2 separate regions of the Homo sapiens genome follow, and region 1 is linked to region 2. The links are contacts of gene promoters, found by promoter capture Hi-C in blood cells and fetal thymus (Javierre and others, 2016). All regions are on one chromosome and are shown on one strand. The core of a region is centred on a gene start or on the middle of the fragment in contact, and the rest is flanking DNA. Distances in the headings are between cores, read along the strand shown.

Evidence for each region. Contacts are between HindIII fragments. The CHiCAGO score rates a contact against its expected background, and 5 or more counts as called.
Region 1: a contact is called between a fragment that was not itself captured here and the fragment with the promoter of RNF152 in region 2, in 1 of 17 cell types (total B cells). The highest score is 5.8, in total B cells.

The regions. Positions count from the first base shown.
Region 1 is chr18:61,320,825-61,323,539 of GRCh38, forward strand. No RefSeq gene overlaps it. Among named protein-coding and RNA genes, the nearest start is that of CDH20, 11 kb to the right of the region's middle. The HindIII fragment of the contact is 816 bases long and covers 1,044-1,859 here.
Region 2 is chr18:61,891,469-61,894,376 of GRCh38, forward strand. It overlaps RNF152 (ring finger protein 152), which reads right to left and starts at 1,539. Exons shown (of 2, transcript NM_173557.3): 1 at 1,327-1,539. RefSeq lists a silencer at 2,725-2,874. The HindIII fragment of the contact is 8,244 bases long and covers 1-2,908 here.

The DNA of each region.
Region 1 (2,715 bases), core at 202-2,701, 570 kb before region 2:
AGAAAAGGGAAGCCAGCTTCCAAGTTAGCAGCCTGGGGATAAGCCACATGGCAAGATACTGAGGGCTGCCGGCAACCACGGAGAGAGTCAGAAACAACACTCCACCACTAGAGCCTTGAGGTGGCTGCAGCCCCCCGCCAACAGCTTAACTCTCACCTCATGAGACTCAGAACCAGAACTACCCTGCCAAGCTGTCTGTAGATTTCTGGTGTACAGAAACTGTGCAATAACAAATGTTTCTGGTTGGTTTGTAAGCCACTAAATTTGGGATCATTTGTGTGCAGCTATAGGTTACCACTATAATAACCCTGCAAATGTAGCCCCAAGAGTAAGATAGGACTATAAGGGCCTCTGCACATTCTGCAGTCACAATTTATATTTTTGTTATACATACATCTGTCCATTTGGGGAGGTCATGTATCATTTCATTAACATATTTTGGCCTATAAAGAGGTGGATAGATACGCACTAAGAAGCAATCGAGTATCATGGTAATGGATATAGACTGAAATCCCAACACTTGAACTGCATTTCCTGCTTTAGCTCTTACTACCTGTATAACATTGAGTGTGCTTTTTTTGCCTCTCTGCCTTTGATGTCCTTTTTCACATGAAGGGCAATAAGAGTAGCACCTCTAGAACTGTCAGAAGGAATACATGAGCTAGTGCATATGACTCTTAAAACAGTTCCTAGAGCATTGTAGACATTCAGTCAACATTAACTACTGCTATTATTATCGTGGTGGGCTGGGACACTGAGGTGGATGTAAATAAAGAAAAAGAAAAAGAAAAAGGAAGAAAGAAATACTTCAATCTATTTTCTTACATTGACTAAACTGTCACCTCTATCAGTCAGTCTTTTTTTCCATTGCTTCACCTCTTCTCCCGAGATACACTTCCTTATTCAATACATTCACAAGCTTGACCTTTTTTTGTTCTTGATTCACTTTCATATAAGCTCCTTCCCAGATTTCATCTCATGCATCTTTAGGACAACTATTCATTAGCCCTAACCCAACTCTAACCAACCCACACCTAACCCCAAGCTTAATCATACTGACAAGTGTTATAAAACCACAGGCCTATGTTCTTAATATGCAGAAACCCCCACTTAGTACTTCACCCCTGTTCTTCAGGCTACATCTTTGCCTGGTGTTGTGTGCTGAAGCCCTCCAGGAGCCAGCTTCACTCACATCTTACCTGCCTGAGCTACTTGCTTTAAAATTGTAAGAAGGGACAGATGACTTTTCTTAGATCCACAAGGCTTCCTCCACCTTCTCCTACTTATCCTAGGGGATACACTAGTTCTCTTCTCCTATATCCTTACCTCTGGGGTTTGGGTCCCATGTTCTATGGATTAGTCATTCTCATGGTCTTGGATCTCTGCAGTTCACACCTCTAGAAGGCCCGTTCACTTCTTTCTTCCACTATGGACCCGTCTTCTGGGGCAATGGATTATCATGTCCATTGTTGAGCAGGGCTGTCTTAATCCCATGCTGTTGACAGCTCTTCTGACTGATCTATATAATACTCACCACCTCCCCATTTCCCATCCTCTCTGCATTTTGCCTTCGGTCTTCTGTGGCTCCCCTCATCCTATCTCGCCTTACACCTGTAGGTGGCGCCCATGCACCGGTGAGGGCAGATGGCGCCTGTTCTGTCCCTCCTGTCTCCCCCTGGCTGGGCTCAGACAGTAGGGAAGATCGGCCCTTCTTCCTCACAGAGACTCTCCATCAACATAAAGACATCACTTCTGGGTCCTTGTTCTCCACACCTGGAAGGCTTCCACGAACAGCATATTTCCTGGAATAATTTCTTAAGCTGCACCTATAATTTGTTTATCTTTGGACTTATAAAATAAGCTTAACATGTCTCAGCCTGGCTGTCCTCATCTGTGGAGGCCATCTTAAATGGTGGTGGTTTGACAGGTTATTATTTCATCTTAAGTGATATAATGTATGCAATTGCTGGGTACAGTCTCTGGCACATGGTATACGTGTAGTAAATGCGTTGTTATTATTACTGTTGGTGTCATCCTCAACATCATCAGCCCCATCATACACAAACCCATAGTCCTTTGCCCCTTAGGTGAAAAGTTCCTGGAATGTGGTTTAACTCCAGCTTCTCCTGCAGTTATAATTCTATATCCCCAAATCTGTCTTTTTCCTTTCCAAAAATATCACCATCCCCAAAGAAGGCCCGATTGTTTCAATCCCACTGCTTTATTTCTGGAAAGAATGGTGAGAATTTTTAGCCCTAAACATGCTAAATAAAATCACAAATTTCTTCTAAGAGTTCTGTCCCTTTTTCTCCTATACATTCTCCAAAATAAATCTATTTTCTCTATTGATCTAAAGCTCACAACAAACTTCTTGTTGAAAAATATTTGATTTACTGAAAAATATTTCCCTTGGCTACCTCCTAAGTGAACTGATAGGGTACCCAGCCACATAATCTCTTGTTGGACAGCTCTTCTTTTCATCAAAAGAATCCTTGCAACAAAAAGCACCTGGAATGGCAGGTTACGATGCTCTCCTCTTCTTTCGCAAACTTTCTAGATTTTCTTTCCTTCTCTATTCTATTTCTTTTTACTTATGAACTATATGAAAGGCAAAACAGACAAACTGGCCATTAGGATTTCAATAATTCCCTTACTTTCTCCTCCACATTCTATTTTCCCTTACCGTTATTCACCCTCACCTCACTCTTCCACATT
Region 2 (2,908 bases), core at 289-2,788:
TATTACATTCCCTATTATCCCATCACATGTTTTTTCTTCTTGCAGCAACACAGTACACACCCTGTACTATTGCTGACATAAAAATTACTTGTCAAAAATACCTCTATCTTAGCACCACATTACTCATCTGATCTTTGCAAAGCACTGGCCTTTGTTTCACCTGGGACTAGATAACTCAACTGCTTTTACTAGTGACTCCTGAATGCTTGTAGTAGAAGGATAAATGCTAGTGTCACCTATGTTTTTAAAGTCACCTTCCAAAACAAAACTACATTGGAGGTGAATAATAAATCTTTCAAGTTTTTAACTTCATTTTTCAAGGGATTTGGAGGAAAATGGTGAAGAGAGAATCTGTCACAGATACCAAGGTGTTACTGCAATGTAAAAGAGAGTAGACCAGGAGCCTTTGGCCCTCAGCAATCTGTCTTCCTACAAGAAAAATCGAAAGCCCATTTCCATAACCATTCTTATTCCCTGCTACTAGTGTAGGATGCGCAGGACTCTGCCCTCTAGCAGAAAATGCTAATGCCGGAGTGTCCTGCTAAGTCTGAAGGTTACGTTTTTTCATTGCACTCTTATCAAGATAACCCCAGATCTGGCTAGGCTGACATCAAAACAGAACTATCCTTGGAAAGAAAAGAACAGGCCAGAGTTTTTGGAAAAGCCCCAATAACCTAAAGATAAAATCCAGAATGAGAGTCTACTGGTTCATGGCTATCTAAATGGAAACTTCACTCAAGCTGTTTTCTCTGTTCTCTTTCTGCTGCCCCCAACAGCCCTCCCTTCCACCTCCCAGTACTCACTGCTAGCATGTCTCTCTTAATATTGCAAACACTATTACAATGAAGGAACAGAAGAAAGACAGTATTTCATACGAAGGTCACTGCATTTGACCGGTGCTCAATTAGAGCACTGGGCAAAAGTACAATCAGCCTTCCAATGATACCTTTTCAACAAAGGATACCCCACCTCTAGACTGAAGCCTAAATCTATTACTACAGATAAGAAAGCAGGCATCTATGGAAACCTAACATTCAGATACAACTGCCTGTGTATGAATTATATCAAAATTCCCATGAAAGGAAACCAGGTGGGATTTCTACAATCCCAAATTCACCCTGCACCTACCTCCAATGGCTTCTTCAAAGGGAAGGTATAAAGTCATTTGCAATTTATTTCTTTGAACCAGGAGTTTTAGCAGCCCCCACACCTTCTCACAGATAGGAACGATGTTGATGCAGAAACCACCCAAACAGCCCTGTGCCAGCACTGTCGGCCCAAATGACCCAGAGACACCCAGGCGCTACCCAGATCGTGGGGGGTTACCTGTATCTGTCACCGAGTCTCTTTCACCCCTTCTGCGTGATGACATCAAGTGGAAATGGTACACGTTTAGGAGGCAAGAGGCTGACAGGCAGGAAACACAATTGAGACTGAGCTTTCTTCAGCCTGCAGTGAAATACATGCAGGAAGGGTTAGATACGCGCCGCGGAGAAGGAAATCCAAGCGCCCTCCTGGGCAGACGGGGCTGGAGCGGGTGCACTAGGGAGGTGGAGCAAGGCAGATGAGGTGTGGAGGGCTGGCGGCCGAGAAGGGGGCGTCACGGCTCCTAATTGTCTCTACAGGATAAATAACCACCTCCCCCCTCCTCCGCAGTCTCCCCCGCCCACGAGTTCCCCTCTGGTGGCAGAGCGCCTACTAGCAACAGTAAGCCCTAGGAAAGAAAGAAATCGGAGCAGGTGGGGAATAACATCTTGGGGCAAAGACACACTGGCAAAATCTACCAGGTAACCCGGTCATATGGGAATGCGGGGCGCCTAGTCAGCCGCGCAGACAGGCACACAGCGCGGCAATCCCGAGCATCTTTCTTTCGTTTGCCCCTGTCCGCCACCTCATCAAGTCACCGCCACCTCATCAAGTCACCGTCACCTCATCAAGTCACCGTCACTCTGCTTTGGCGATTTCTCTACTCTCTCCAGACCCAGGCAGCGCTCCCCAAGCCATGCCCCGACCCCAGGCGGGATTGGGGACCGCCGCTTCCCGAGCAGCGCCCCACGAGTCCAGCTGGCTTTGTCCTGCCGCTGTCCTTCCAGGAGCAAGCGCCCCAGGCGCGTGTGTCTGCACAAAAGACCCCCAACATCTGGCCCTTCACAGCGCTCTCTAATCCCGGGAGGGGCCCTGGGGCAACTTCTAGGGCTGGAGAAGGCGCGAGACAAGGGGACCGGGAGAAGATGAGCCGGGGTGTGTGCGGGCCGGGGGCGCAACTGGGGCGGGCGCGCGCGCACGTGCACACCCAGGGGCGCGCGCGGCGCGGGCACGAGGAAAGCTCCCTCGGACCGGAGCTCCAGGGGGCATCCGAGGACTCGGCCGAGCAGCCGACAGCGCCGCTCCCCGCCGCGGCCGCCCGCCCAACTCCGCCAGCTCTCAGGAGACACGCAACTCCCGGGACCACCTCCCCCGTGCCCCGCCAGACCCCGCGCTCCCCTCCCCGGGACCCTGCGGCCCCGCCACCCCCTCCGCGGTCCAGAAGATCTCCCCAGTTACAGCAGGCGGCAGCTGCCCTTTCCCGCTTCCACGGCTTCGGCGCGGCCGCCGTAGGGGCGCAGACATCCCTGCGCACCCCTCTGTCCGCCCCCGATCCGGAGCCGGCAGAGCAGAGAAACAAACCGAAACTCACTGACCTTTCTCCGCGGCGGGCTCGGGTGCTCGCTACAGAGGCGGCGGCGGCGGCGACAGCATCGCCGGGTGGTCCCGGCGCGCCCGCTCCTTTCAGCCAGACTCGCGCCCCGGGCCGGCGGCCGCCGCTCCTCCGGCCGAGAGCCACGGGGCGGACGCTGACAGCGCGGCGGCGGCGCCTGCAGCCCCAGCACCCGGCCCGGCCCTTCGGGCGGCACCCCCACCTGCCCGG